3 separate regions of the Homo sapiens genome follow, and all the other regions are linked to region 1. Evidence: promoter capture Hi-C in human tissues and cell types (Jung and others, 2019). All regions are on one chromosome and are shown on one strand. Each heading gives the region's core, a stretch centred on a gene start or on the middle of the fragment in contact. The rest is flanking DNA. Distances are from core to core; before and after follow the strand shown. Region 1 holds the start of PLEKHB1 (pleckstrin homology domain containing B1). Region 2 overlaps P2RY6 (pyrimidinergic receptor P2Y6). Region 3 has its middle 8.3 kb from the start of DNAJB13.

What was found. Contacts are between HindIII fragments. The study calls those that stand out against the background at their distance.
Region 2: a fragment that was not itself captured here is called in contact with the fragment with the promoter of PLEKHB1 in region 1 in 1 of the 25 tissues and cell types used here (aorta).
Region 3: a contact is called between a fragment that was not itself captured here and the fragment with the promoter of PLEKHB1 in region 1, in 1 of the 25 tissues and cell types used here (hippocampus).

What each region holds. Positions count from the first base shown.
Region 1 is chr11:73,644,473-73,647,830 of GRCh38, forward strand. PLEKHB1 (pleckstrin homology domain containing B1) reads left to right here and starts at 2,109. Exons shown (of 8, transcript NM_021200.3): 1 at 2,109-2,154. The coding sequence starts at 2,137. RefSeq lists enhancers at 1,674-2,592, 3,228-3,358 and a silencer at 2,968-3,187. The HindIII fragment of the contact is 18,602 bases long and covers 1-3,358 here.
Region 2 is chr11:73,294,858-73,298,215 of GRCh38, forward strand. P2RY6 (pyrimidinergic receptor P2Y6) reads left to right here. Exons shown (of 3, transcript NM_001277204.2): 2 at 873-958; 3 at 1,628-3,358. The coding sequence starts at 1,662. The coding sequence ends at 2,648. Among named protein-coding and RNA genes, the nearest start is that of ARHGEF17, 12 kb to the right of the region's middle. RefSeq lists an enhancer at 500-549. The HindIII fragment of the contact is 6,460 bases long and covers 1-3,358 here.
Region 3 is chr11:73,941,015-73,944,372 of GRCh38, forward strand. No RefSeq gene overlaps it. Among named protein-coding and RNA genes, the nearest start is that of DNAJB13, 8.3 kb to the right of the region's middle. The HindIII fragment of the contact is 7,569 bases long and covers 1-3,358 here.

The DNA.
Region 1 (3,358 bases), core at 859-3,358:
GGAGGCAAGAGGCGGGAGGATAGCTTGAGCCCAGGAGTTCGAGACCTGCCTGGGCAATATGGCGAGACCCCGTTCTCCAGAAAAAGGAAAAAAAAAAAAAGACAAAAAAAAGCGTAAAATTATCACTTTAAAGTGTTTTCTTTTCTTTTTTTTTTTTTTTTTTTTTGAGACGGAGTTTAGCTCTTGTTGTCCAGGTTGGAGTGCAGTGGTGAAATCTCGGCTCACCACAATCTCTGCCTCCCGGTTCAAGCAATTCTCCCGCCTCAGCCTCCCTAGTAGCTGGGATTACAGGCATGTGCCACCACACCCAGCTAATTTTGTATTTTTAGTAGAGATGGGGTTTCTCCATATTGGTCAGGCTGGTCTCGAACTCCCGATCTCAGGTGATCTGCCCGCCTTGGCCTCCCAAAGTGCTGGGATTACAGGCATGAGCCACAGCGCCCGGCCATTTAAAATGTTTTCATAAGCACTTTTACTTTTGCTCAAATTGCATCTTGATATAAACTTCAAGTTTTTTAAAATAAAGATAATATAAATTATTCTCATTATATTATACTCTCTAGAAAATGTAAGTAGTAAATTTGAATTTGATGAGCCAGTCCACTATTTCCTAAACAATGTATTATCTGTGGGCTGTTCATTCACCAGGGACACTTGAAATGGCAAAATCTTTTCCTCTCTGCCAATGGTTCTGTGCACCATAGCCACAAAGAAATGTAAAAGTTACTTGTTGGCTTATTAGTCTCAATAAGTTTTAGTTGATTGAACAAACAAAGTCTCTCACAGCCAGGACTGCTGCGGCTGGAATTCCTGACATACTGTCATACCTCTCACTCGTCAATCTACACTCTCCTCCCATCTACACAGCTCTGGAAATTAAAAACAATCCAACCATGACTATCATGGCTTCAGAGGTCTATGAACTCCCAGGAATTATACGCAGATTTTTTCCTGAGGACAGTCTACACTTCCTTATTGGCTTCTCAAAGAGGGTCACTGACCAGCTTTTAGAGACATGGGCCAAGTCCGGCTACGTTTAGATTCGGTAGTAGTGTCTGTGGTTTTAGTTTGCCACGTCCTTTCCTCTTTTTTTCGTCATAGTGCCCGCTCTTTGGGAGGTAGGGGAGAGTCTTCCCCTGAAGTCTCCACTGCTGCTGGAGAACCTTCCTTTTTCATCTGGTTGCTAAATCCAGAGAATGAAATCTAGGAGATGATTGCACCGTCCCCGCCCCTCAACATGAAGGATGCCCCACTGCCCATCGGGGAGGGGAGCAGGGAGAGCTGGAGAGAGGCTGGGTCGGGGCAGGACCCAGGCGCAGATCCTCCGAGGCCAGCTGCAGCCCTACCTACCTGCCTTCCCGTCTTTCCCCTCCCTTCTTTTCTCCTTCTGTCTTTCCTTCCTTCCATATCTCTTTCCTTGCCTCTTTCCCCCTCCCACTGCTTCCTTTCTTCCTTCCACTGTGGAGGTGGAAAATTTAGCTAGGAGAAGCTGGGACTGGGACGTTCCAGGAACCAGACAGAGAGTGAGTTAAAGGCACAGAGATGAAAACGCGGTATGGGAGAGCTGGTTCTTGAGTCGGCTAAGAGGGGATGAACTCAATGGTTAATAGGATTGGCCATGGCGAATCCCTCAGCAGGGCACGCACCGCACAAAGGGCCGAGGAGCGAGGGTAGCTCGAGGTCAGGATTACAGAGACTCAGGAGCAAGAGAGGAAGGCTTAAAGAGCCAGACTGCGCAGCCAGGACTGGGGTGATGGGCGCTGTCCTGCCAGGCCAAAGAATGAAGATGTAGCCCCGCCCCCAACCTAGGGAGGAGGACCAGCCCGGTTCCTGTCCTGCCCCCGCAACCTCGCCCCGATTCCACTCCGGGAACCTCGGCGATGCTGAGCCAAGACCACTTCTGAATCAGGGATGACTTGTCTAGTGAACCTAGGGTCAGAGCCATCAGTTGGAAAGGCTGGGAGGAGCCTGGAGAAAGAGGGCGACCTTCCTTGGGATCTGTGCGCTCCCTCCTTGCCTCCCCCTCCAGCCTCCCACTTGGTAGCACCTTCCTGATCCCCTTATCTCTAAGGCGCTCAGGGAAATGCCCCGCTGCGGGAGCCTTCTGGGAAATGCTGCCCTGGCCACCCAGGAACCATGAGCCCTGCAGCCCCGGTAAGGAAGAGTTCTCTGGGACAGGAGGAAGGGCCCAGGGCAGGGTGGGCACCCTTGCCACATAGGGGACGGGACAGAAGTCTTTTAGGCCCTGACATCCTCTGGTCTCTGAATGACATCCTGTGGCTGCTGGTAGGTGAGGGTTTGCGGGGCTGAGCTATTGAAGGAAATGATCACAGTCCGAGGTGATAGATACAGAAAGTCTTCCTTTCTCCAGGTGGGCTCCCGCCAGTCCATTCTTCACTGTGCCCTAGAGGGGCCTTTCCGACCCCCTAATCACACACCTCACTCCTCATCTTGAAACTCCCACCCCCAGCTCCAGTCACTGCGTCCTAACATCCAAGCTCTCCGCCTGTCATGCAAGGCCTCTGTGCTATTTCTTTCCAAACCCTGCAGCTCTATCGCCTGACACTCCCGATGCCCTCCCCACCCCTGCGCTTTATGTTCTAGACACACGGAAATGCTGGGCACTCTTCAACATCCTGACAGTATTCATAGGGGAAATTTCGGGTCGCCTAGGAAACTGCCCCTCATCCTCCAAGGCCCCTTTCAGCCTCCTCTGGGAAGCCTTCCTGAACCCCTTGAGAAAAGTCAGGCTCATCTTTTCCATTGTTAAATCACACCTTGTGCTCCAATTGTGTGTTTCCATGTAATCTCCCTCACTAGACTGGAAGCTGGGGATGGAAAGGGGAAGCATCAAAAAAACATGCAAAACTAGGAGCTTGGCTTCTCCTTGCAACTTTACTTTTTCTTTTTTTCTAGGAACTGAGTTCAATGATTCTTAAGAAAAAGTATTTCATGATAAATGAGTGAACAAATGTCTTAATAGAAAAGTAAAATTGCAGGCGGGGCTGCTTCTGCCCAGCTCTACAGGGGTAGACTACAAGTCCCAGTACGCCTCGGGTCAGCATCTCTTCACGTCACTCCCCCTCCCTGGGGTGGGCAGGTCCGGAGGGCGGGGCCCGGGGGCAGCTGGGCTCTCAGGCGCTGCGGGAGGAGAGAAATGCCCCAGGCTCTCCGGGGCACACAAAGCGCAGGCGCAGCGGGTTGGGTGGCAGCAGCATCGAGTAGCGGCCGCTTAGGCAGCAACATCCGCAACAAGTGTAGACAAGGTGGGTGCATCAAGGGGAGGGGCTGGAAAAGGAGTCTGCACCTGACCCTCTTGTCTGATCTGTGTCAAGACCGTGGAGAGGGGAGGGAGCGG
Region 2 (3,358 bases), core at 503-3,002, 350 kb before region 1:
TACAGATGGGGAATCTGGAGAACAGAGGTTAACTAGTATGCCCAAGACCACAGAGCTCATCCATGGCATAGCTGGGACTTGAACCTGAGCATCTGGATCAGAGTCCATATACTTTGCCTGAACCCTTTACCACCCACTGAGTGCATTTGCAGGACTTCATATTTTTTCTGGGCTTCAGTTTTTCCATCTGTAAAATGGCAAGAGAGGAGGATTAGATTCACTATCTCAAAGGCCCATTGGATTTAAGTTGCAAATTTTCTCTAGACACCAGTAATATGGCAATGTCAGTTTCGAGGTGAGTGTCTAGGAGTCAGACTTACCCCATCAGGGAACCCCTTAGGGTATTTGTGCTGCTGGCTCTCCCAAAACCCAGCCCGAAAGAATGAGAGGAGGGACAAGATGTAGAATGCAATGGCATGGCATTTATTGAGCACTACTGAATGTCATCACCGCATATTTCACTGATGAGGACACTGTGACATAACCTGCTTCACACAGCATGGAAGTGGGGGAGCAACATTTAAACCCAGGCCTGCCTAGCTCTGAAGTTGGTCATGTAACCTCTACATCCCATGTCTGTGGGCTACACTAAGCTGTCTCTTCTGGATTGGGCAGTTGGGTTCTGGTTCTGACTCTGCTCTGAGTCACGAAGAAAGAAGGAGCAGTCCCTGCCCCTCACTGTGCCTGGATTTCCATCTCTGTAAACAAACGGTTGACTCGGTCCCTCACCCATCCGCCTTCAGGGACGCTGTTTTCACTCTGGGCACTAGGAGGCGCTGTGTTGTCAGAGGCTCTGCCAAACCTGCCTTTGTAGCCTCAAGTGGAAAGAAGCCTTGGGGAACTGGGTATCACCTCCTTCCCCTATTTTACAGATAACAAGACCTCTGCCAGAAGAACCATGGCTTTGGAAGGCGGAGTTCAGGCTGAGGAGATGGGTGCGGTCCTCAGTGAGCCCCTGGTGTGTGGACCCTTCGCATTGGTTAACTAAGAGTTATCAGGGCCCTTTTCCGCCCCAGACCCTGGGCGAAGATGCAGAGAGACACCAGACCTGGCCCCTGTTCTCAGGCAGGTCTCAGTCTCTGAGAGACATGCAGATCCACCATGACCAGAGTCTCCACACCCCAGTGAGCCCCTGGCAGCCCTGCACAGCATGATTTAGTGCTTCTAACCTCGTGACATCCCTGAGAGGCAGGTGCCGCATTCCCCCTTTTCTCGGGTGAAATGAAATCACCACCTCAAGGTCATATAGCAAATGCATAACAGAGTTGGGATTCAAACCCAAGTCCATCAATCTCCACTAACAGAGAAAGAAACATATGATCAGGGCTTTGAAGGATGAATAGAAGTTCACTAGGAAGGCTGAAGGAAAAAAAAAAATATATATATATATATATATATATAATATATAAACAAAATGAATCAGATTGCTCCCAAGAGTTAGCTTTATTGTATCCCAAGTTTTCTCAAAGTGAGGGCTCTGTGGGGCTTCACGGGGTGGTTAGAGTAGCCGAGTTGACAAAGTTAGTGCCCTCACTGTTCAGACAGGGAGATCAAGGCCCGAGGAGGGGCAGGGCCTGCTGGGTGGTGAGTGAGCATGTCACTGACAGGCTGTGTATTGCTTTCCCAGCCTCCCTGAACATAGGAAACCCACCTGGGCAGCCATGGAATGGGACAATGGCACAGGCCAGGCTCTGGGCTTGCCACCCACCACCTGTGTCTACCGCGAGAACTTCAAGCAACTGCTGCTGCCACCTGTGTATTCGGCGGTGCTGGCGGCTGGCCTGCCGCTGAACATCTGTGTCATTACCCAGATCTGCACGTCCCGCCGGGCCCTGACCCGCACGGCCGTGTACACCCTAAACCTTGCTCTGGCTGACCTGCTATATGCCTGCTCCCTGCCCCTGCTCATCTACAACTATGCCCAAGGTGATCACTGGCCCTTTGGCGACTTCGCCTGCCGCCTGGTCCGCTTCCTCTTCTATGCCAACCTGCACGGCAGCATCCTCTTCCTCACCTGCATCAGCTTCCAGCGCTACCTGGGCATCTGCCACCCGCTGGCCCCCTGGCACAAACGTGGGGGCCGCCGGGCTGCCTGGCTAGTGTGTGTAGCCGTGTGGCTGGCCGTGACAACCCAGTGCCTGCCCACAGCCATCTTCGCTGCCACAGGCATCCAGCGTAACCGCACTGTCTGCTATGACCTCAGCCCGCCTGCCCTGGCCACCCACTATATGCCCTATGGCATGGCTCTCACTGTCATCGGCTTCCTGCTGCCCTTTGCTGCCCTGCTGGCCTGCTACTGTCTCCTGGCCTGCCGCCTGTGCCGCCAGGATGGCCCGGCAGAGCCTGTGGCCCAGGAGCGGCGTGGCAAGGCGGCCCGCATGGCCGTGGTGGTGGCTGCTGCCTTTGCCATCAGCTTCCTGCCTTTTCACATCACCAAGACAGCCTACCTGGCAGTGCGCTCGACGCCGGGCGTCCCCTGCACTGTATTGGAGGCCTTTGCAGCGGCCTACAAAGGCACGCGGCCGTTTGCCAGTGCCAACAGCGTGCTGGACCCCATCCTCTTCTACTTCACCCAGAAGAAGTTCCGCCGGCGACCACATGAGCTCCTACAGAAACTCACAGCCAAATGGCAGAGGCAGGGTCGCTGAGTCCTCCAGGTCCTGGGCAGCCTTCATATTTGCCATTGTGTCCGGGGCACCAGGAGCCCCACCAACCCCAAACCATGCGGAGAATTAGAGTTCAGCTCAGCTGGGCATGGAGTTAAGATCCCTCACAGGACCCAGAAGCTCACCAAAAACTATTTCTTCAGCCCCTTCTCTGGCCCAGACCCTGTGGGCATGGAGATGGACAGACCTGGGCCTGGCTCTTGAGAGGTCCCAGTCAGCCATGGAGAGCTGGGGAAACCACATTAAGGTGCTCACAAAAATACAGTGTGACGTGTACTGTCATCAAGGGGTATGCTCCATGCTTTGAGTCACCAATGAAGCGGGTGAGGGAAGATGAGAGGGGGAGGTGAGAGCTTCTGGGAAGGGGCATTTGAGCTGGGTTTTGAGGGATGATTATGAGCTCTCTGGAGAGGAGTGATATTCCATTTATTTAGAAAGCCTTTACTGACACCTTGTGCTCAGGCCTGTGTTGGTTCTGGGGCCCTAGAAGAACCAGTCCTAGCCCTGGTCCATACGGGCTCCCAACTGCTGGAAGTACAGACTGGCACAGCAACATCAGGGTTGTGACAGAGGGAAGCATGGCTGGGGGGAGGGGGTACACAGACAGTGCCCATGACCCAGTCCAAGGAGTCAGGAAAGAGCTCTCTGAGGAGGGAGCATCTGAGCCAGATGTTGAGGGCTGAGTGGGAACT
Region 3 (3,358 bases), core at 642-3,141, 300 kb after region 1:
GTGCCAATTTGTAAGCATCCAGCGGCAGGTCCCAGGCATATTGGAAGATATTTATATCCTATTGATATATTCATTTTCATCCCTTCCTCATTAGAATGCATTGGCCTTGATTATCTATGGGCTCAGGCATCCAGGTACTGTTGTTGGTGTACACCTCAATAACCGGGTCCATCCAACTCACAGACCTAATTAAAGGAGGAAATGGGACATATGCCCAATAAGTAAAATTTTGAGTTGCTCCTACAGTAGGGAGGCTTATCGCCACAGTGAGTACTGCCAGCATGGCCACCATTAAGTTACTAGTTGTTTTTGGTTTGTTCTGTGCTCTCAAGCTGTCCTCTGCCATCTGCGCCAGCTTCTTGATTTGTCCCCATGTTGGAGGATCCGCCTGACGAGTATTCTCGGTCTTCTCTTTTGTCTCTGAGATGTTCATTCACGCCATCACTCGTATTGGGAGCTCTGGCTCTTCCCAGAGTCCTCTCTTCCTGGTGTGGCTCATGATAGATCTTCAGATGTTTGATGGGCACCCACACAGGTACCTGATTTTCACCTGGAGAGACACAAGCAAATCCTCTTCCCCACGTAATTATCTTTCCTTTTTCCCAGTTTTTTGTGTGAGTATCTCTCCATCATATATCTTGTCTGGCCTTTTTGTTTTCCTTTTGTCCTGTCAAGTGTTGTTCAGCTGCAGTCATGGATTGATCTTTTTGTAAATTTAGAAAATGTAATATTAATAAAGCTAAGTGTAATTGCATATGCGGTGTTTTATATTCCTGGTCTCCCCCTTTTTGTTTTTGTATTTGAGTTTTTAAAGCATGATTAGCTCTTTCAACTATTGCTTGTCCTTGTGAGTTATATGGAATACCTGTAGTATGGGTAATATTCCACTGTTGAAAAAAATGTAGCCATAGCTTTACTACAGTACCCTGGGCCGTTATCAGTTTTGATTTTTTCTGGGATTCCCATAACTGCAAAGCAAGGTAAAAGATGTCTTTTAACATGAGCTGTAGCTTCTCCTGTTTGACATGTGGCCCAAATAAAATGTGAGTAAGTATCTACTGAAACATGAACAAAGGACAACTTTCCAAAGGCAGGAACATGTGTTACATCCCTCTGCCAGATGGAATTTGGAGATAAACCTCTAGGGTTAACTCCTGTTCCTTGATGTGGCAGGTGTAAGACTTGGCAGGCAGAGCAATGTTGTACAATTTCCTTAGCCTGTTTCCAAGATAAGCCATATCTGTTTCCAAGGCCTGCAGCATTAGGATGGGTTAAAGAATGGAATGTTTGTGTATCAGTAAAAGCTGCAGAAACCAGTGCATCTGCCCTTTGATTGAGTTTGGTTAAAGGGACGGGGAGGTTAGTATGTGCTCTTATATGAGTGATATACAAAGGGGAATGCCTTTGTTGTACTGCTTGTTGTAAAGAATGAAATAAAAGATTGAGTTGATCATCAGTTACATTTTCAATTAAGGCACATTCAATATTTTGCACAGCTTGCATCACATAGGCCGAATCAGAAATAATGTTTACTGGCTGTTTAAAGGTTTTTAGTACTGTAATTACAGCCATAAGTTCAGCCCTTTGAGCAGAAGCAAAGTCAGTTTGAACAACTTGTTGTTGAGGTCCTACAAATGAGGCCTTTCCATTACTAGATCCATCAGTAAAAACAGTATTGGCCCCTTCAATAGGGGTCTTTTGAGTAGTGGAGGGTAATATCCATGATGTCAATTTTAGAAATTGGAATATTTTGGATTTAGGATAATGATTATCAAGTATACCAATAAAACCAGCTAAATTAACTTGCCATTTCTGGGAGTTAACATAAGCTTGCTGAATTTGTTGTTTATTTAAAGGAACTATAATTTGATTTGGATCATATCCCATTAATTTTGTTGTATACAGCCTTGCTTGACCTATCAGTACAGCAATTTGATCTAAGTACAGAGTAAGTGTTCTAGTTGTATTGTGAGGTAGAAAAAGCCACTCAGCTAGATCATCCTGTTGAACAGTAACACCTGTAGTTGAATGTTTAGTAGGAAAAATGAAAAACTGTAATGGCTGTAGTAGATCAATTCAAGTCACTTGTGCCTGATGAATTTTTTCTTCAATTAATTGAAGTTCTTACAATGCTTCTTTGGATAGAGAGCATTTGCTGTTAAGATCAGAATCACCTCATAAGTTAGAAAAGAGGTGAGACATAGCATAAGTAGGAATGCCTAAAGTGGGAATAATTTTTGAAAATCATTTAGAGGTTTTTTTTTTTTTTTTTTTTTTTTTTGAGACAGAGTCTCGCTCTGTCACCCAGGCTGGAGTGCGGTGGTGCAATCTCGGCTCACTGCAAGCTCCGCCTCCTGGGTTCATGCCATTCTCCTGCCTCAGCCTCCCTAGTAGCTGGGACTACAGGTGCCTGCCACCACGCCTGGCTAATTTTTTGTATTTTTAGTAGAGACAGGGTTTCACCGTGTTAGCCAGGATGGTCTCCATCTCCTGACCTTGTGATCCACCCACCTCAGCCTCCCAAAGTGCTGGGATTACAGGCGTGAGCCACCACGCCCGGCCTCATTTAGAGTTTTTAAATTATCTCTTTGAATTTGAACCTTTTGAGGCTTAATAGTACTTTGTTTTACTTTCCTTCCTAAATATTGAAATAGAGTGGAAGTTTGGATTTTATCGGGGGCTGTGATTAATCCTGCAGCAGTTACAGCCTTTTCTGTTTGTAGCATAGTATTCATTCCTCCCTAGTTTCAGCTGCACATAAGATATTATCCATGTAACGGATGATATAACATTTTTTAAACTGTTTTCTAACTGGCATAAAAACTTTAACAACATAAGTTGGACAAATAGTTGGGCTATTTAACATGCCTTGTGGAAATACGTTCCAATAGTATCTATCTGCTGATTCTTTGTTATTTATGACGGGAACAGTAAAAGCAAATTTTTCATAATCTTGGGTCGCTAAAGGAATGGTAAAAAAGCAACCTTTTAAATCTATCACTATGAGAGGCCAGTATTTAGGAATCGTAGTTGGGGAGGGCAGCCCTGGTTGCAGCGCGCCCATGAGTTGAATTACAGCATTAACGGCCCTCAAGTCTGTTAACATTTTCCATTTCCCTGATTTTTTCTTAATGACAAACATAGGAGAATTCCAAGAAGAGAAAGTAGGCTCTATGTGTCCCTTTTGCAATTGTTCTTGCACCAATTCTTTTAAAGCCTCCAGTTTTTCCCGTTTCAGTGGCCATTGCTCCACCCAAACCAGTTTGGCAGTTAGCCAAACAAGAGGAATGGGTGCCAGAGGCTCGACAATGGCCGCTCCTAAAAATGATACCCCGATCCAGTTTGCTCTGTTTAACCT